Regions from separate parts of the Homo sapiens genome. Here all the other regions are linked to region 1. Evidence: promoter capture Hi-C in 16 types of primary human blood cells and fetal thymus (Javierre and others, 2016). All regions are on one chromosome and are shown on one strand. The core of a region is centred on a gene start or on the middle of the fragment in contact, and the rest is flanking DNA. Distances in the headings are between cores, read along the strand shown. Region 1 holds the start of MATN1-AS1 (MATN1 antisense RNA 1). Region 2 holds the start of ZBTB8OS (zinc finger and BTB domain containing 8 opposite strand). Region 3 overlaps SRSF4 (serine and arginine rich splicing factor 4). Region 4 overlaps PTPRU (protein tyrosine phosphatase receptor type U). Region 5 overlaps MECR (mitochondrial trans-2-enoyl-CoA reductase). Region 6 holds the start of YTHDF2 (YTH N6-methyladenosine RNA binding protein F2). Region 7 has its middle 5.4 kb from the start of SRSF4.

Region 1 (2,700 bases), core at 166-2,665:
CCTGCCCTAACCCTGATCCTGTCCTACTGGACACCCTGCCCCTGCGGGTCACATCCCAAAGACCCACACACACACCTCCCCTCCGAGAAGGGCTCTGAACCTTCTCCTGCCAGTGCCCAGGCCTCTCAGACTCTCCCGCATCACAGAAAACTCTGGCACCCAAAACTCACGACACAGAAACATGTGTAGGTTTTCTGGGAGCTCTCCTTCCTGAGCTCTGGGCCCTCCTTGGTCCCTGCCAGGATTCTGCCACATAAAAGGGCTCTGTTGTTTTTTGTGTGTGCGGTTTTTTTTTTTGTTTTGTTTTTTTTTTGAGACGGAGTCGTCTCGCTCTGTCGCCCAGGCTGGAGTGCAGTGGCACGATCTCGGCTCACTGCAAGCTCCGCTTCCCGGGTTCACGCCGTTTTCCTGGCGCAGCCTCCCGAGTAGCTGGGACTACAGGCGCCCGCAACAACGCCCGGCTAATTTTTTGTATTTTTAGTAGAGACCGGTTTCACCATGTTGGCCAGGATGGTCTCGATCTCCTGACTTCGTGATCCGCCCGCCTCGGCCTCTCAAAGTGCTGGGATTACAGGCGTGAGCCACCGCGCCCGGCCATAAAAGGACTCTTAACATCGCCTCTCCCCAACTCCCTTAACCTGGGGCTGGAGACCCTCCTCCGTTATCAGGCTCCGCCCCAGCTACGGCCCCACCCCTGGTGCTGGCACCACCTCAGTCTAATCCAGGTTCCACCCCCAATCCACCTAAGCCGTGTCCCTAGCCCTGGCCCCGCCCTGATGTTGCCGTGTAACTCAGTTCCCGCCGTTTTATAGGCTACCGCCCCAGCCAGGCCCCGCCCTCTGATGTGGCCCCGCCCCCCGACGCTGACTTTTTCTGTCTTCACTTTAGCGCTGGCTCCGCCCCTAGCCTTGGCCCGCCTCAGCGCGGACTCTCAGTCTCTGCGCCTGCCACGGCCTCGTCCCGCTCAGCCCTGGCCCTGCCCCTGGAGCCGACTCTCTCCGCCTCCGCCCCGGTCCCGCCCTGGCACTGACTGTCTCCGTCTTCGCCCCTGCCCTGGCCCCGCCCCCTGCCTGCTCTGGCCCCGCCCCGCCGCTCTCTCCGTCTCCGCCCCTGCCCTGGCCCCACCCTTGCCCCGCCCCGGCGCTGACTCTCTCCGTCTCCGCCTCCGCCCCCGGCTCCTCCCCGGCCCCGCCCCGGCACTGACATTCTATCTCTCTCCCGTCTCCGCCTCTGCCCCCCCCCCGGCCCCGCCCCTGCCCTGCGCCGGCGCTGGCTCCGTCTGCGCCTCAGCCTCGGTCCCGCCTCCAGCCCTGGCCCCGCCCCGCCGCTCTCCCCTTCTCCGCCCCTGCCCTGGCTCCGCCCCCGCCTGCCCGCGCACCGCAGAAGGCCTCCTGGAACTTCCTGGACAGCTTCTCGATGACGCTGTAGCTCTCCACGTAATCGACGTGTTCGTCCTGCGGCTCGCTGGCGATCTGCCGCAGCGTGGCCTTGTCCACGCTGCCCACTCCGATGGCGAACAGCTCGACGCCGCTGGCCCGGGCCCGCGCAGACACGTCCTGCACGCTGTCCTGGGGCCTCCCGTCTGTCACCACGATGACCACCTGCGACACGCGGGGCGGTGTGACACCGGGCTCCCGGAAGCCCACGGGACTGTCCAGGAGAGGAGGCTGAGGCCCGGAGAGGCGGGAGGACTGCCGGGTCGCACAGCCAGGCGGCACCCGGGGGAAGAGGACCCGGCTGGCCGAAGAGGAGACCCGTTTCCTCTGACTGAGAGACGTGGCTGGGGGGCTTTCCATCTGCTTCGCCTCCCTCGGGCAGGCAGCTCTGAGATGCCCGGAGGGATGTGATGCCCCATCGCCAAATTGGGGTCTCTAAGGTCAGGGCCATGCCTTCCCCTCAGACTGAGGCGGCTGAGGGCAGGGTCCTCAGGCTGATGGCTGTGGGAGTCGTGCCACGCCCCTCGTGCCCCCGGGAGGCCCGGCCGGGGCTGGGTGGGGGGATCCGGTGGTTCCACATGGTGCAGTTCTGCGCTTTGGCCACCAGATGGCAGCCGAAGCTAAGGGATGGGGCTGCCGTCTCCCGTCTTGCTGTCCTTGTCCCGGTAAGACCGGGGACCCTGGACCAGGGAACCGACGGAGGGCCACTCCCATGTGGATGCCCAAGGGACCAACCCAAGAAAGATGCCGCCCTTATCCTCCTCCACTCCCCGGTATGATACATGCCCCTGCCAGAGAGGGAAAGAATCTGCCTGCTCCCCTCCCACTAGGCTCCTCTGGTCTGTACCCTGGAAAGAAAGAGGTGGCGGACTCTGTCACTGAGATCCGGCTTCGTGACCCCCTGTCTGCACCCGCCCTGAGGCTAGGGCGCTCCCAGCTCTGCCCAGTCTGGGTTAGGCATCCAGTCCCGCTTTGCTGCTTCTCTGCTTCTGACTTGGGTCTGTTTCTGATTCCTGGGTCCCATCCTTAGCCCCAGGTCCTGACACCCTGTCCTGATGACAGGCAGTTGAGACAGGCCGTGTTTAGAAATGCAGCTCCACAAGCTACAGGTCACCTTCCTGAGCCTCAGTGTCTTCAACTGTAAAAAGGGTTGTGGTGAGGTTGAGTGAGATGACTCCTGGTTAGAAGCCAGAAGGGGCAACTATTATTTTTACCATCATTACCCTGGGCTACCTGGGGAGTGACTTTGTACAATCTCTTCCTC
Region 2 (2,700 bases), core at 201-2,700, 1.9 Mb after region 1:
TGGGATTACAGGCGCCCACCATCATGCGCAGCTAATTTTTGTATTTTTAGTAGAGACGGGGTTTCACCATGTTGGCCAGGCTGGTCTGGAACTCCTGACCTCAGGTGATCCACCCACGTCAGTCTCGCAAAGTGCTGGGATTATAAGTGTGAGCCACCGCAAACGGCCTATAATATTTTAAAATTGTTTTTAAGTGAGAGAAGGGGATATGCTAGGAGGTATGCCAGCTCCAGAAAGCACATTGCCTAGAATACTATGGTAAATAAGTAGATTTTACAGAGAGGACAATGAGAAATTAATGAAAGATTTTAAGCAGATAAATAAAAGTCAGATTTGTGCTCCCCAAACCACAGCTACCTTTAGGGATGACAGCTTAACGTTTAATATAGAATTTAAGAGACAAAGATAGGTTATGTGATTTGCCTAAAGTCACTAAGCGAATAAATGGCAAAACCAGCTGGGCACTGCAGCGCGGGCTATGATCGCTCCATTGCACTCCAGCCTGGACGACAGAGCGAGACCCCATCTCTAAAAACACACACACACACACACACACACACACACACACATTTTTTTTTTTTTTTGAGACAGAGTTTCGCTCGTTGCCCAGGCTGGAGTGCAATGGGGCGATCTCGGCTCACCGCAACCTCCGCCTCCCGGGTTCAAGCGATTCTCCTGCCTCAGTCTCCCGAGTAGCTGGGATTACAGACATGCTCCACCACGCCCAGCTAATTTTGTATTTTTAGTAGAGACGGGGTTTTTCCATGTTGGTCAGGCTGATCTCGAACTTCCGACCTCAGGTGATCCGCCCGCCTCGGCCTCCCAAAGTGCTGGGATCACAGGCCTCAGCCACCGAGCCCGGCCTAAAATAATCATTTTTAAAAATCACAATCATAAATGGCAAAACCAGGTTTTTTGCTAATATGATCGAGGTGAAACATCAAGTTAGAAATCCCCTAATTAGCTTTCCGAGTCCTCTAACCTCGCACACTCTAATCTCACCGTTGGGAAATACATGGGGGTAACAACCCTGCAAACGCCTGAAAATATGGTTATCTTTAGAATTTACGAAGATAAATGTGATTAGGCACATGTGGAAGAAGTTCAAGAGACTGTAAATGAGGGAGGCCAGGTTTCGCGACTATTAAACCAGGTGGCTTTTTCCTTCAGCATCCCCAGGAGAAGTACGAACGCGACTACAACAGCCGGCACAAATGGGATCATGCCTGAAGTACCCATGGGGCACAGTAGAAAGAGCAGCAGGAAGCCGCGGGTAAGGAGAGGGGATGCCTGTGTGCTTACATGTAAAGAGAGAAGTAAGCCACCTACTCACACTCGTACTTCCTATTGACTGGCGGATACTTGGCCTTGATCGCCTTCTGTTCTTCAGTCAAATTGTAATCTCTAACATCTTCCTCTTCCTGCGCCATGACTGCAGGATTAGACACTCTACTTCCGCCCTTCATCCACCGGACTTCGGCCCGGAGTTACTACTTCCGCTCTAGACTCCGCCCCTTGGCGCACACCCTTAAAGGACCACACTCCTTTCTCGGAGTTGGCTGTTGACCTACTTTAGTCCCTACCCTGCCGCTTGGATCGCATATTTAAAAAGCCAAAACCCCATCTTCTGCGATTCCTTCATTACTAGTTCTTTCCAAAGACTAAGGAAAAACGTTGAAGGGCACCTTGAATGAAACCCGTCTGGGTCTGACTGGCGAGGTTCTTTCCCCCGCTTCACCCCCAAAATTGATAACTAGACCCGAAGGCATTCTAGATTTTTCATCTCAGTACTCTGAAAGGGTCGTAAGCTTAATAGCCTTCAAGAAAATGGCTGCCCTCTTGCCGCGGGAGTGTGCGGACCAAACCTCTCTCACGTGACCCTGACCGGGCGCAGTCCCGTCAACGCCGGCGCGCGCAATCGCTGGAAGTCGGCTCGGGGAGGCGTGGGGGGAGGGGCGGAGCGCGCGCCTCGGTCCCCGCGGAAAGCTACTCCGCGCGTCTGGATTGGTCGCGAACGCGGCTTCCCCGCCCATCCCGCCATTAGGAGCGCTCCCATTGGCTGATGTTGGCGCGAAGGTGCGCGAGTCAGCCCTCGCGCTGGGGGCGCAGGAAACAATAGAGGCCGCGCGCACAGAGCGAGCTCTTGCAGCCTCCCCGCCCCTCCCGCAACGCTCGACCCCAGGATTCCCCCGGCTCGCCTGCCCGCCATGGCCGACAAGGAAGGTGAGGGTGCCGGGGCCGACCCAGGAGGGCAGTGGGTGCCTGGGCTGAGCCGCGGCCTCGACATGGCCTAACAGTGAGGGCAGGCCCGAGTTTGCCGAGTGCAGTCCCCGGTACTGAAGGCGTGAAGAGGGAACTCCCCGCGGGGCGTGCTAACGGCTCGCCAGTTCCCTGGGACCGATTTCGGTCGCAGCTGGCGAAGCCAGCGGTGGGGCCCCCGGCCAGTGTTTGTTTCTCTTCCTGCCTCCGATATCGGTTTCTCGGCCTCTGTCCCGAGCGTGGGGACACCGCTTCCTACCCACAAGGCTCGGAGCTCGGGCCTCCTCGTCGGGCTTGTGAGTTTCGGCGCGCACGAGCGTGCTCCGAAGGCCTGGCTGGCCCCTTGGCCTGGAACGGGTAACGGAGTGTTTGGCGGGGATGGCCCGAGGAGTTTCGGCGCCGCGAAAGTGGAGAGTGTGGATGCCTCTGCCGTGGGGATTT
Region 3 (2,705 bases), core at 48-2,547, 1.5 Mb before region 1:
CTAAAAACTATTTTTAACATGCAGCCCACTAGGACTCTTCTTCACATTTCTTTGTAATAATTACTACTCCTATTTTTGAAAGTTTTACGATGTATAAAGCATTATGCTAAGTGCTTTACACACATTATATCCATTTAATTTTCACAACTCTGAGGTTTACTGTCATCTGACAGATCAAGAAACTAACTTAGAGGAGTTGAGTAACTTGCCAAGACTATCCCAAAGACCTGGGATTCTTCACACCCAGCTAACCTAAAACCTGCATTCTACCACCACGTTTTAACCGCCTCCTATATACCAATGAAAAGTGGTCCATAAAACCAGAGTTGGAGAAACACAAGCTCTTGCACAGAAAATCAGTTTCATCAAATTATGTGCTGTAGTGTGGAAGACAAATGCCCACAGGAATATAAGCATCTTATGAGAAAGAGTAAGTGGCAAGAAAACACCATTTCTGCATGTGATGTGTGTGTGCTAATACCAGTAAGTTGTGAACATTTATTCTCTACAAGTGGAACCAAACCCATATGCCATCAAAATTTTAATACTAGTCTAGGAAAATAGAAAAAGGTAACAAATCATTAAGAAACTTATATCTCAGCAATGAGAACACAAATATATCAGTGGGAAAATTAAACTCATGATCCTTTCTCATAAAGTAAACCAACTGCTGAAAAAAAATCTCTAATGATGAACTAACCAAACTCAAGCCCATGGTATTGAGTCCACATTGCAGATAACAGCCCATCTCTAACAGAATATATATTCACATAGTAGGGTGAGAAAAACAGAACAATCATTATCCTAAACACCAAACAGTAAAACTAAATCCTCCCAGAATGGGAGGTAGAGAGGAATCTGCATCAAATATGAATTTAGTCTTACTCTGTAACTACTCTATGAGCCTATTTGCCAACTTTGTTTTAGCTATTCAAAACTTTCAAAAATGAACTAAGTCAGCTAAGGTATTTCACTTTTACACTGCAAATAGTTTGTGGATCAAACTATCATTACCCCCTGCAATCATAACTGAACTTTCTTTTTTGATATTTTAAAGTCAACATGGCTTTCCTGAAAGGGAGGGCAGATACAATCATCTGTGTCCATTTCAATTTTCTGACACTTTTCAACACTAAGGATAAATGAAATTGAAAGCTTTCAAAAAAGGGGAATCAACTATTGCCTGATGACAAGAAGTTCGTGAAGACTCAACCACAAATTAAAAACGATTTGAAAAAACTCGAGAGATGAAAGTCACATTACCAATTTAGAATAAAACTCTTGGGATTTAATATAGAATTACTTTATCTGTTATTCCTACTTAAAGAAATAAAGGTTTACACTCTGCAGACAGCACTACCTGATTCCACACAAAAGCTACAAACAAAACCAGTTCATACTTACCTCTTAAACAACACAATGAGCAGGCTGCCAGGTGTTAAAGCTTCATTAAAGATGATGCCTCTTGGATCATCTTGGCTGTATGAGGCACCATGTCCCTCATAATCGCCCCTGGTCCCTGGGCTGGAGTCTGTTTCTTCATTTTCATTTTTGGTTAAAGATGCCACTCCCTATGCTTTTATTAATTAGTGGATGCCACTAATTAAGTATTTTAATGAATTTTTCAAATTCTTTTAAAATGGATGGATCAATAGCTTCATTTCAATTACATGAAAACCTTTCCAAGTCCATGTTTCTGGTCTGTGGTTCCTGACTCCCTTGCCTGAGCCTCCTGCTCTGTCTGCCCTCTTCATTCCTGAAGGCTGAATTCAAACCTCCCTCTTTCAGACTTCCTCTTCTCTCTAGGTCTTGGGGGTCTTTGTTCATGAAGGTCCCCTTTCTGGCATAAAAACCTAAACCCATGGTTGGGGACCTGGGAGAAATAAAGTGCCTTTCAAGCGCTTCTTCAGACATTGCGTGCAGTTCAGAAATCTTTAGCCTGGGAGACTTTCATCTCAACACACAGAAAACTCAAGTAAAACATTTCCTCAAACTATGGGCATACAAATTCAGAGCATAATCTAATCCCTCACCTTCAGGGTACTATAAGACCAGACGGCCCTAGGAATGACAATAAGGCAGAGAACATTTACTTGTACAAATCCTTCCTCAGCCAACCACGATAAAGCTGATACCACCTTACAGCTTTTCAAAGAGTAGCCTGAGGAGGAGAATCACTAGCAGTCTCCAACTAAGGACAACATCATAAAAAATACCATCTGTCTCACTTTTGGCAGTAACTTGTCAGCTTGCTGGAAGCCTCTACAGAGACTAAAGGCTGAACAAGCCCGGAAACCTGAACTACCCTCTCACCCTCAGAGGCAATCCCCAAAGGACAGGACTAAAGGAAATAGCATGAGGGAAGCTTTGAATGTCAATGCCCACATGTATCTAGTATGGGAATTTAAAAAATCTTCTATTTCCGGAGTTGTCAATAACTCATTTTGTAACCTTGGGCCAGTCACCTTATCACCCCATGCCTCAGTTTCCCCATCAGTACAAACTAGGGACAACACTTGTTCATAAAGTACTTTGACATACTCAGTTGAAAAATAAGTCATACAAATGCATTAATATTTTCGGAAGTTTTAAGATTTCAGTGTTAGCTTACAAATTTGTAAGTATCACCCCAACGGTATTCTCTCAGATGCCTGGAGCACCTTTCTTCTGAGGAGCTCAAAGTAAAATTTGCGGTTCTGGGTACC
Region 4 (2,700 bases), core at 73-2,572, 1.5 Mb before region 1:
CTCCTCTGGCTCTGGGTTGGGGGCTGCCATTTCCTGCAGAATGACTGTGGGAGGACCCCTGAGGGGGACAGCTCAGAAGATGCTGCTTCCAGATGACGCAGGAGGTCTTGGGCAGATTCCCAAGATGCAAACCACAAGACCTTGTGATGACTCAGAAGGGACAAGGAGAAAGGGGGCTTGGAGGGCCGCTGAGGCTTGGGAGTTTGAGGGCAGAAGCTGGGGAGAAAGATTGAGATGGGGCTGTTAGGAAGGGGAGATGCTGAGGATATTTGACAGGGCAAGATTAAAGCTAGGGGTGGGGTGACAGCTCAGCCCCCGGGGGCTCCCAGACTAGTGGAAAAAGGAGACGGAAAACCGCAGCACACTGTCAGATGTCCACTGTGGTGGGTGACAGCTGAGGCCTGGGGGACCACTGGCGGATAGAAGATAGCTGGTGGGAAAGATATACCTGGGGGATGGGACAGCTGACAGTGAAGGGACAGGCGGTATTGGGGGAACAACTGAGGGTTGGGGGACAGGTGGATGATAGAACAAGGAGATGTGGGTGATAAGATAAGAGGTGGAGATAAGAGGTGACAACTGGGAGCTATCAGAAACCTAGTGGATAGGACAGGTGAGTCTCAGCTGAGAGTGGGAAATACATTGCTTAGAATGTGTATGTATGTGTGTTTACAGGAGCGTGCATGTGGACTTGTGGCTGGGCATGCCTGTCAATATGTGTTTGTCTAGCGTGTGGTGGTTAAGAGCATGGGTTCAGGGCCCAGACCATCTGGGTTCTAATCCTAAGCCCACCACTTCTAGCTGTGTGATACTTTGGTAAGTTACTGACCTCTCTGGGCCCTTAGAGTTCTCATTTGTGGAATGGGGATAATAATAGGACACACTGCATGCGTTTGTCATGAGGATATGTTTTATGGTTATGATTATGTAGGTTAGAACAGGTCCTGCACATAGTAAGCACTGTGTAAGTGATCACTGTTATGATGTGTGTATTTGCATGCGTGCGGTCATCCTGTGTGCCCAGAAAAGTTTGTTCTTGGTTTCTGATGAAGTCCAGGCCTGGGAGGGAGTAATAGTGGTGGGGACGGGGGTGGTGGTTGGGGAGTGCCTAGCCAGGTTGATTGAGTCTGGCTCTTCTCTGACATCCTAACCTCTTGTTCATCCTACTTCCTGCTCACCCTGTCCCAGGGCCTTATCCAATAATAGGTCTTTCTCTCTATCTCTCCTCTGTCCTGCCCTGGGCTGGGGGCCAGGGGCTGTACTTTAATTGTCTGAGAGCTTTACCAGCAGAATTTGAATTCATTGTTTTCCTGCCAGCATGCTGGGATTCTGCTCAGTTATAATACCTGGACAATGTGCTCGATTCTAGATGGCCTATCCTGTGGGTGGCAGTGGCTTCAGCCTTTGCCCTTGGAGAGTCACTGGGGTGGAAGATGTTGGAGGGAGGGAGACAAGCCAGATGAGATTTCGGCCCCCAACTTGTGGGGTGAGCCAGCGTGGCCGGGCAGAGCTGTAGGTAGAGAGTTTTCCAGGGATCTGAGCTCCCCTCTCCTCCAGTGCATCACAGGGAGGCATCATGACCCTCCCAGCAACACTGTTGCAGCGTGCCAGGCTCTGGACTGCTCTGGATGTGCACTGTCTGGGATTCCTGGGTCCAGCCTCCTTGCACAGCCCTGTGTCTCAGCCCTCTACTTCACTGGGATTGCTGCATTGCATTGAGGGTGTGCGTTCTCCTGAGTTTCTGCATGCTCTGCCTCTGCATTGTCCCATTGGACCGTGCCTCCATCCTGCCATGATCCTGCCATGGTCCTGCCATGTGTGTGTCTTTGCTGCTCTCTTGTATACTGTGTCACTCTGCTGGATGTCAGTGTTGCATTGGGAAGGTGAATTCTCCTGGGTTTCTGGGCGGAGCTGCTCACACTGCACCACTGTCTGAGATCAACACATGGTTTTCTGTGGCCACATTGCATGTTTGTGTCATAGAGCATTTATATTCTGCACCCCATTGCCTCACCAGGCAGTCTACATTGCATTGGGCACATGGACTCTTTTGGGGTTTGGGCATAGCTCCTCGCATTGCAGCACTGCACCGTGCCAACAGATGGCATGCTACCACAACATTGCATCTTGGCATCACACAGCATCTCTGTACTGCACTGCACTATTGCATGGACGTCAGTATTGCATCAGGACTGTGAACTTTTCCTGAGTTTCTGGGCATGGCCCCTCTGCATTCCACAGTTGCATTGTACCAACAGTGCACTTTGCCCCATATAGCACTTCTGTGCATGTGCACTGCTTTGCTGCACTGGATATGTGCCTCATGGCCCAGCCCTTGCACTGCACCACTGCTGCTGAAACGCTGCCCCTATGGTGTCCTGGCCTTTCACGCTCCTACCACCATGGTATCTGTAGGCTGGCGTCCTTTTCCAGGTTTTTGTTGTCAGCCCTACGTGAACAACATCTTTGCATTGAGTGTCCTCACTGCCCCACGTTGCACATGACTCAGGGAGTCTATATCTATAGTACAGCTTGGGACCACTTTCTTGGGCTTCAGGACTGGCTTAGGTTTGCAAAGGCAGCACCACTGCACAGTATCTGACATTGCATTCGTGCACTGCACAGGATTACTGCCCAGGGCCTCTACCCTGCAACGAACCTGTTCACTGTTGGGTTGTGTGCACTCTACCGGATTGCGGG
Region 5 (2,700 bases), core at 25-2,524, 1.5 Mb before region 1:
GTATATAGGTCCATTTCTATCAACAGCTTGCAGCTTCTTGAGAGGGAAGGGTCATGCCCTATTCCTCTCTGCAGTGTTTAATAAAGGTGCACTGCCTTGAAATGGGATTACAGCTGCGCTGGAGAAACTGGCAGCCCCTGAAACAGGGTCCTACAGTTCTGTGGCAAAGCCCAGGTTTAGCTTTGGACCTGGCCATTGGGGAAGGCGGTGTGACATGCTGGGAAAAATGTGGGCTCTGGAATGAGACAGATCTGGGCATGAGTCTCAGTTTCACCAATGATTGTAACTAAACAGACAGGGCAAGTCATGACCTCTGTGAACTTCAGTTTCCTTCCCTTAAAATATAATCCCAGCTACTAGGGAGGCTGAGGCAGGAGAATCGCTTGAACCCGGGAGGTGGAGGTTGCAGTGAGCTGAGATCGCGCCACTGTACTCCAGCCTGGGTGACAGAGCGAGACTCCCTCTATTAAAAAAAAAAAGTGCCCCCGATTAGAGTCAAATGCATCGTGTCCGGGAAAGTGCTTTGTTGAATTTGAAATGCTATCTGGTTTTTGAGAGGCAGCAGGGATCTGTCACACAACGGGCTGAAACTAGAGATAGAGGACTTCCTGGAAGAAGAATGCCCACTCGTCTTCACCAGGGGTCAACGTACAGGTTGTCACCCACCAGTGGATTATGAATCAATCTAGTTGGTTGCAAGCACCTTTTTTTTTTAAAGTTAAAATTGAGAAGAGAATAAAAAATAACAGAGTATGTCACACATAGTAAGGGTATTTCACGAAACTTTGGTTTCCATTATATATATATTCCTATTTGTATAAACTGATCACAATATAAAATGTAATTCTTACCATGTGTCAAGATCCTAAGTTTATTCAACAGTGATCTAGTTCAGGCCATATCAGCCTTGAGGCAGGAAAGTGGAGAGGTGTGCAGTGGGTACTTAGGGTGGGCAGCGTCGAAATGCCTAGATCTGTTACTACAGCTGCAGCCTAAATGGGAGGTGGCTTTAGGGCATGGGATGCAAGCAAACAAAGTGTCTGCTGCACTAGGACTCCAGCAAAGGTCCCTGGTCACAGCCACTGGCTTTCTCCACCAAAGGCTCCCAGGAACCATCTGCCATAGTTGCAAGAAACCTATATTTCTCTTGTGGGAACTGGCATCGGCTTTCAGCCAGGCCTTGGACAGTGGCTGGGCACCATGTTTCATCACACTCCAACAACTGTGGGCCTCAGTTTCTTCGCTGGTATGAGAGGTGGCTTGGGTGAGTTCTACAGCCACTGCGGCTCACGGATGTGCATGGATGTGCATGGTGTGCAGAGGCAGCCCAGGAGGTTAATGCCCTTAGGGCGACCCTTAAACAATGGGGTGTGAGAATTAGTGGAAAACTGGCCCAGCCTCTCATCATTCAAGGGTTAGTTTTTGTTTTGTTTTGTTTTGTTTTGTTTTTGAGATGGTGTCTTGCTCTGTTGCCCAGGCTGGAGTGCGGTGGTGCAATCTTGGCTCACTGCAACTTCCGCCTCCCGGGTTCAAGCGATTCTCCTGCCTCAGCCTCCTGAGTAGCTGGGGTCACAGGCGCTGCCACCACGCCGGGCTAATTTTTGTATTTTTAGTAGAGACGGGTTTTCACCATGTTGGCCAGGCTGGTCTCAAACCCCTGACCTCAAGTGATCTGCCAGCTTCAGCCTCCCAAAGTGCTGGGATTACAGGCATGAGACACCATGCCTGGCCTTAAGGGTTAATTCTGCAGTGGGTTCTGAGAGTCTTCAGAGGGCCCCAGCAAGACTGAGCAGGCCGGCTGGGGGTGGGTGGCTCGCGCCTGTAATCCCAGCACTTTGGGAGGCTGAGGTGGGCGGATCACAAGGTCAGGAGTTAGAGACCAGCCTGGCCAATATGGTGAAACCCCATTTCTACTAAAAATACAAAAATTAGCCAGGCATGGTGGCAGGCACCTGTAGTCTCAGCTACCTGGGAGGCTGAGGCAGGAGAATCCCTTGAACCCGAGAGGTGGAGGTTGCAGTGAGCCCACGCCACTGCACTCAAGCCGGGGCGACAGAGCACGACTGTCTCAAAAAAACAGCCGGAGCAGTAGTTGCCCGCAGCAGTAACCGGGCTTCATGGGCTTTGCCTCCATCTCTGTCTCACTCTCCCCACTCCCCTTCATTTCTTCTTCCCAAACAAACTCTCTGCACCCAGTGCTGGTCTTAGGCTCTGCTTTCAGAGAAACCCAAATAAAAACACTTGGCTCTGTCATTTACTCCCTGGCTGATCTCATGCAAATAGTTTACCTTTCTGGACCTCAGTTTTCCCATTTATGAAAGGGAAGAAGAATATAAGCAGCGGACAGTCTCTGCACTGTATGCCCAGCACTGTGTGAAGTATTATGCTGTAGTGTTTCACCCTCCACGTTCTTTATTCTCCATTTTACAGAAGAAAAATCTGATGATTTGAGAGGCAAATTCACAGTCAGGGAAAGGTGAAGCCTGGGGTCAGACCCAGGTTATCTGCCCAGAGCTTGAGCTCTTAACCAATGATGGTACCAACCTTACTGCAATGCTGTGAAGATTTCATGCACTCAACGGGGATAATGCCTGTCAACGCACTTCTGTGAACTGGAAAGTGCTATGTAAACGCTGAGTGGAATTATTAACACTAAGTTCAGCATTTTATTGAAAACATAGGGACTGTGTCTATCTTGTC
Region 6 (2,752 bases), core at 28-2,527, 2.0 Mb before region 1:
GTTAAATCCAAGATGCCATGTTATTTATTTTACCGAGTCCACCCAAGCCTCCTATATCCAGCGTGTGGATAGTACGAGGTTGACAATTAGTGCATTAGTTACCTGTTTACCACGACGTACTTGCAATAACAAAAGCTATTAGATGGGCTTTCCTAGTATCAAATATTCCTGCATGAGTTGGCTTTGCTTCTGATTGAAAATACTTTTGCCCATCCTTTGCATCTCCCCTATATTCTGGTTCCCTAATACAGAGTCTCGTAGGGGTAGAGAGATACCATTATGTTAGTGTCAGATACACCTGGCTATTTAATAGTTTTGTAAACTTGGGCACATTACTTAAGCTTTCTGTTTTTCCAGTCGTAAAAAACCGAAAGACTGATAGCGATTTTGAAGTTGTCGAAAGACTTTAATGTGTTTGAAAATACCTAACAACAAAGCCTGGCCCACAGCTGGTATTTCAATAATGTTAATTTCCTTGCTTCCCTCTTGAGGTCCTTAAGATTCATAGGTTCTCCGGACTCCTTGAAAGTTTTGTGTAGATGCATGAGGTGTATTTTTCTTGGAAATAAAGTCCACAATTTAACAGATTATCTTGGGGCCAGCGATTTCCCCGAAAATAAATTGTAGATTCTCCTTCCTGCAATGCTAAGGGGTGAATCTCTTTTGCGGGAGACTGGATTCTTTCGGTGTGTGTTTTGCTCTCTGGGTACTCTTTCTGTAGTCGGCTAACAGAGGATGACCAAGCCCCTCGCGGGGGCGGGGGCGGGTCACTCCCGGACAGGGCCCCCATGAAGTTTCCCTGGGGACTGTGTGACTCCCTAGGGGTCGGGTTACCTCCCAGATGGGGGTGGGGTATCACTTGCAGCTGGAAGGCAGGTTCATTTTAAGGTCTCGCGGGCTTCGGAGGCCCCTCCCTCACTGAGAAACCGGCTTTTGTCGTTCTTCTGAAGCCAGAGCTAGTCTTTCCAGGTGTTAGTCGAAACCTCGTGGTGCGACCCTGGTCGTCCCAAACCCCCTAGGCCTTAATCCTGGGGCGGTGGGGGCGGGGAGGCCGTGAGCACGGCTTCCGCTCCTCCAATCCGCCAGAGGGCGCAGCGGCCGGCCTCTCCCTTCCCGGGGTTCTTCGCGCCGGGCCCCTTCCGCGTGGGTGAGTGAATGTGAGAGTCAGCGCTCGCGCCGCGCGCGCCGCCCGCCTCCGCTGTTCGGCGCTCTGCTTTAGGCGGTGGGGGGCGGGCGCGCGCGTAAAAGCATAGAGACGGGCATTGAGCTCTTGGGCTAGAGCGTCGCCGAGTCGGAGCCGGAGCCTGAGCCGCGCGCTGTGTCTCCGCTGCGTCCGCCGAGGCCCCCGAGTGTCAGGGACAAAAGCCTCCGCCTGCTCCCGCAGACGGGGCTCATCTGCCGCCGCCGCCGCGCTGAGGAGAGTTCGCCGCCGTCGCCGCCCGTGAGGATCTGAGAGCCATGTCGGCCAGCAGCCTCTTGGAGCAGGTACAGGCCCGGCCCGCATGCCTCGGCCATTGTGTGAGGCGAGAAGGAGCCCGACTAGGCCCGGGCCCGCCGCTCCTGGGCAGGCCGAGCCGAGCCGAGGCGTCGTCTCTTGCGGGCCAGGTTTCGGGCCTCTCAGGCCGGCCGCGCCCGGCGCCTCTCCCTCAGCCTGTTCTTCCCGCTTCTCCTCGGGCCTCGGAGCCCACGGGCCGGGCCGCGCCGCGTTCCCTTCTCTCGGCGGGCCTCGTTTTCCTTCCTTGTTTCCTTCCCCTTCCTTAAAGCCCTGGGTTCCTCGCGTCGCCGGTGGCGCGTCTGCCGCGTTTTCTCCCCTGCCCCACGGGCCTGGCGCTTTCCCCCGCCTCCCATTTTCAGCCTCTTCCTCACTACCATTCCTGACGCCTCCCCTCGGGCCTGCTCCTTTATTCTCCCTTCGGGCCCTGCCTTAATTTGTTCTTCCTTTTCCATTTCTCCTTTGGACAACTTGCTGCTCGGCGACGTTTCCTTCCCCTGCAGAGACCAAAAGGTCAAGGAAACAAAGGTAAGTCCCGCTCCGCCGGTGGCCCTGAGCCGGGAGGGGGACGCGGGGCGGTGGGGGCGGGGTCTCCGGGAAGCGCCCCGGGCGGAGGACCTTTCGGAAGCCGCTTAGTTCGCAGGTGCCGCACACTTAAGTATTTTGACCCTTTCGGTGTGTTCTTGCAGCTGGCGAACAGCTTTTTCGCTAACAAGGAGTAATTCATTAAGGGTGGGGGTGGATTGGGTTTTGAAACGCTCCAGGTCCTTAGTTTCCTGTAGGTCTTAGAAGGCCTTTGTTTTTCATCCTCGTGGATCACTCTCTGGAAGTACTCTCATGTGATGGGGGAGGGGAAGCGGGAGGGAATGGAAATCCAGAGGAGCCAATAAAATGACCTTTTTAGATCAACTTGCTCTGGGTGGAGGGGGACATTTTCACTGGCGACTGTCGCTTCAGCATTCACTGTCATCTCTTACCCTTTTGAAGTTCAATCTTACGTGCTTTGTTAACTAGTAAGGTTTTTCTCTGGTTAGCATATATGAACTAATTTGAAAGGAAGATTGTAGGATTGGGACACTCCTAATTGAATTTTTTTTTCTTTAGTACAAAATGGATCTGTACATCAAAAGGATGGATTAAACGATGATGATTTTGAACCTTACTTGAGTCCACAGGCAAGGCCCGTGAGTAGTTAACTATTTACATATCTAATCGAAGGGTGTGGTATATTCTTTCTCCGCCTTCTACCAATAAATCCCA
Region 7 (2,807 bases), core at 228-2,727, 1.5 Mb before region 1:
GCATGCCTGTAGTCCCAGCTACTTGGGAGGCTGAGATGGGGGGGATCTCCTGAGCCCAGGGAGGTTGAGGCTGCAGTGATCTGTGATCATGCCACTGTCCTCAAGCCTGGATGTCAGAGTGAGACCCCATCACATGCACACACACACACAAAAACAACAAAAAACCACGAAAACAAAAATCCTAGCACTAAGCTTGGTTGTTATATTAACCTATTGTACAGATGGGAAAGAGAGCCCTCCAGAGGGGAAATGCTTGTCCCTAAAACCTGCTCCTCCTTCCCCAATGCAAGTGGCACCACCATCAGCGAGGTGCCAAAGTTCAACCTTCAACCACTGCATTCAGTCTGTCCTTCTGATTATTCCTTCTAAATATTCACAGATTCATTCCTTCTTTCCATTCCTACTTCCTAAACTAGTTCAGGCCTCATCAGACTGTTCACAGTCAGGGCTTTGATATGCGCTACTTCCTCTGCCTGGAATACAGCTGGCTCCTTCTTATTCAGGCCTGAGGCCTTCCATGTCCACCTTATTTCAAGTGTTGTTTGTCATATTTCACAACACTTACTACACAGTCTGTAATTACCTGGTTTATTTATTTACTTGTGCATGGTCTTTCTCCACCACTGGAATGTAAGCTCGCTGGTCTCAGGGGCCATGTTTTTTGTTTCCTGCTCTATCCCTAGCCCCTAACAACAGTGCCTTTCACATAAAGAGCGTTTAAAATACTTATTGAATGAATACATAAATAATCTCTTACCTGGACTACTTCAATGGCCTCCTGATTCTGCCTTTTTCTCATGCCTCCCCATGAGACACAGACTCAGGGAAATTTGAATGCTCTTCCAGTTGACATGTCAAGAACAAAATCAAGGACTCGTGAGAAGAGTGGGACCTCCAAGGCCACCTGTGGAGCCAAAAGAATTGGGACTGTCTGCTGTAGTGACCAGATATGGTCAGGGGATCTGGCTTCTAGTGCCAGCTCTGCTGCCTGCTGTGTGATCTGGAACAACTCACTTCACATCTCTGGGAGGCTGCTGCTTCTGTAAAGTGGTGACATTAACATCTCAATGACATAGGAAATTTCTAAGAATCTCTTTTTTCTCTTTCATAAGGTGCCAATGTCTCCTTTCCACTTACCTTTCAGCTAGCCCTGCTGTCTTCCCAGGAATGTTCCTGCCTTCAGATGCAAGCAGATGTTGTGCCAGGACTGAGCCTTCTCTTCTCCACCATTTCCAGCTGCTGTGGCTTGGCCTAGTGCTTTACTCAGGGCATGGTGCCTGACAATAAGCATGGGGCTGGTGGGTGTTCTGAGAGTTTCCATGCACAAGTACAGCCTGGCACACACAGGTTAACGCAAGAGCTTTTCTCTTTTCTTTTTTGAGACCGAGTCTCACTCTGTTGCCCAGGCTAGAGTGCAGTGGTGAGATCTCGGCTTACTGCAACCTCCGCCTCCGGGTTCAAGCGATTCTCGTGCCTCAGCCTCCCGAGTAGCTGGGACTACAGGCATGAGCCACCATGCCTGGGTAATTTTTTTTGTATTTTTAGTAGAGACTGTGTTTCACTATGTTGGCTGGTCTCGAACTCCTGACCTCAGGTGATCTGCACACCTCAGCCTCCCCAAGTGCTGGGTTACGGGCGTGAGCCACCATGCCTGGCCGCAAGAGCTTTATTCTTCTCGGCCTCAGTCTTCCCCTGAGGAAAGTGTGCGTAATTATCTCATATCCCAAGAAAACACATTTATCAAATTTTTTTTCCTTTTTTTGTTGAGACAGAGTCTCACTCTGTCACCCAGGCTGGAGTGCAGTGGTGCGATCTCAGCTCACTGCAACCTCTGCTTCCTGGGTTCAAGCGATTCTCCTGCCTCAGCCTCCCAAGTAGCTGGAACTAAAGATGCACGCCACAGGCCAGGCGAGGTGGCTCACGCCTGTAATCCCAGCACTTTGGGAGGCCCAGGTGGGTGGATCATGAGGTCAGGAGATCGAGACCATCCTGGCTAACATGGTGAAACCCCATCTCTACTAAAAATACAAAAAAATTAGCCAGGCGTGGTGGTGGGCGCCTGTAGTCCCAGCTACTCGGGAGGTTGAGGCAGGAGAATGGCGTGAACCCAGGAGGCGGAGCTTGCAGTGAGCTGAGATTGTGCCACTGCACTCCAGCCTGGGCAACACAGCAAGACTCTGTCTCAAAAAAAAAAAAAAAAAAAAGACGCACACCACCATGCCTGGCTAATTTTTGTATTTTTAGTAGAGATGGGGTTTCACCATGTTGGCCAGGCTAGCCTCGAACTCCTGGAGAGACCAGATCTTGAGGGGCCTCAAGGATCATGGGAAGGATTTGGAGTTTACTTTTTTTTTTGAAATGGAGTCTCACTCTGTTGCCCAGGCTGGAATGCAGTGGTGCAATTTTGGCTCACTGCAACCTCCACCTCCTGGGTTCAAGCAATTCTCCTACCTCAGCATCCCAACGAGCTGGGATTACAGGTGCCTGCCACCACGCCCGGCTAATTTTGTATTTTTAGTACAAATTAATTTAGTAGAGACAGGATTTCTCCATGTTGCTCAGGCTGGTCTCGAACTCCTGACCTGAGGCTATCTGCCTGCCTTGGCCTCCCAAAGTGTTAGGATTAAAGGCATGAACCACTGCGCCTGGCCTCCATTTACCAATATTGTGGCAGCAACTATAGGTAGTCACTGGGTGGATGGTCCCAGAAGAGGACAGGGAGAGATGGCAGAGTCAGGAAGCTGCAGGGCTTCAGGTGCGCTCAAGCTTTTTTTTAGCAGGTAATGCCTATTTGTCTTTTTTTTTTG

The links. The method cuts DNA at HindIII sites, captures the fragments that hold promoters and counts their contacts. A CHiCAGO score of 5 or more calls a contact.
Region 2: the fragment with the promoter of ZBTB8OS here is called in contact with the fragment with the promoter of MATN1-AS1 in region 1 in 1 of 17 cell types (naive CD4 T cells); the score reaches 5.3 in naive CD4 T cells.
Region 3: a fragment that was not itself captured here is called in contact with the fragment with the promoter of MATN1-AS1 in region 1 in 2 of 17 cell types (naive CD4 T cells and total B cells); the score reaches 6.7 in naive CD4 T cells.
Region 4: a contact is called between a fragment that was not itself captured here and the fragment with the promoter of MATN1-AS1 in region 1, in 17 of 17 cell types (naive CD8 T cells, naive B cells, megakaryocytes and 14 more). The highest score is 36.8, in naive CD8 T cells.
Region 5: a contact is called between a fragment that was not itself captured here and the fragment with the promoter of MATN1-AS1 in region 1, in 5 of 17 cell types (activated CD4 T cells, naive B cells, total CD4 T cells and 2 more). The highest score is 10.9, in activated CD4 T cells.
Region 6: a contact is called between the fragment with the promoter of YTHDF2 here and the fragment with the promoter of MATN1-AS1 in region 1, in 2 of 17 cell types (M0 macrophages and M2 macrophages). The highest score is 5.9, in M0 macrophages.
Region 7: a fragment that was not itself captured here is called in contact with the fragment with the promoter of MATN1-AS1 in region 1 in 10 of 17 cell types (total B cells, activated CD4 T cells, naive CD8 T cells and 7 more); the score reaches 14.4 in total B cells.

Annotation. Positions count from the first base shown.
Region 1 is chr1:30,717,357-30,720,056 of GRCh38, forward strand. MATN1-AS1 (MATN1 antisense RNA 1) reads left to right here and starts at 1,416. Exons shown (of 4, transcript NR_034182.1): 1 at 1,416-2,209. MATN1 (matrilin 1) reads right to left here. Exons shown (of 8, transcript NM_002379.3): 3 at 1,379-1,601. RefSeq lists silencers at 639-818, 859-1,378, 1,939-2,028 and enhancers at 1,439-1,608, 1,706-2,281. The HindIII fragment of the contact is 4,958 bases long and covers 1-2,700 here.
Region 2 is chr1:32,649,100-32,651,799 of GRCh38, forward strand. It overlaps ZBTB8OS (zinc finger and BTB domain containing 8 opposite strand), which reads right to left and starts at 1,451. Exons shown (of 7, transcript NM_178547.5): 1 at 1,334-1,451. The coding sequence starts at 1,430. It overlaps RBBP4 (RB binding protein 4, chromatin remodeling factor), which reads left to right and starts at 2,109. Exons shown (of 12, transcript NM_005610.3): 1 at 2,109-2,223. The coding sequence starts at 2,208. RefSeq lists enhancers at 48-187, 1,321-1,908, 1,909-2,497, 2,658-2,700 and a silencer at 1,788-2,357. The HindIII fragment of the contact is 3,350 bases long and covers 1-1,806 here.
Region 3 is chr1:29,169,019-29,171,723 of GRCh38, forward strand. All of the region lies in intron 1 of SRSF4 (serine and arginine rich splicing factor 4), which reads right to left. It also overlaps a transcript of MECR not described here. Among named protein-coding and RNA genes, the nearest start is that of SRSF4, 12 kb to the right of the region's middle. The HindIII fragment of the contact is 289 bases long and covers 1,154-1,442 here.
Region 4 is chr1:29,243,876-29,246,575 of GRCh38, forward strand. The region is part of intron 1 of PTPRU (protein tyrosine phosphatase receptor type U); the gene reads left to right. Among named protein-coding and RNA genes, the nearest start is that of PTPRU, 8.7 kb to the left of the region's middle. RefSeq lists enhancers at 1-460, 1,046-1,547. The HindIII fragment of the contact is 3,912 bases long and covers 1-2,700 here.
Region 5 is chr1:29,203,753-29,206,452 of GRCh38, forward strand. All of the region lies in intron 4 of MECR (mitochondrial trans-2-enoyl-CoA reductase), which reads right to left. Among named protein-coding and RNA genes, the nearest start is that of SRSF4, 23 kb to the left of the region's middle. The HindIII fragment of the contact is 6,958 bases long and covers 1-2,700 here.
Region 6 is chr1:28,735,663-28,738,414 of GRCh38, forward strand. It overlaps YTHDF2 (YTH N6-methyladenosine RNA binding protein F2), which reads left to right and starts at 1,278. Exons shown (of 5, transcript NM_016258.3): 1 at 1,278-1,485; 2 at 1,996-2,020; 3 at 2,597-2,676. The coding sequence starts at 1,459. RefSeq lists enhancers at 1-94, 625-674, 994-1,892, 1,775-1,884. The HindIII fragment of the contact is 4,406 bases long and covers 340-2,752 here.
Region 7 is chr1:29,185,853-29,188,659 of GRCh38, forward strand. It overlaps a transcript of MECR not described here. Among named protein-coding and RNA genes, the nearest start is that of SRSF4, 5.4 kb to the left of the region's middle. RefSeq lists enhancers at 761-1,406, 1,407-2,051. The HindIII fragment of the contact is 2,574 bases long and covers 191-2,764 here.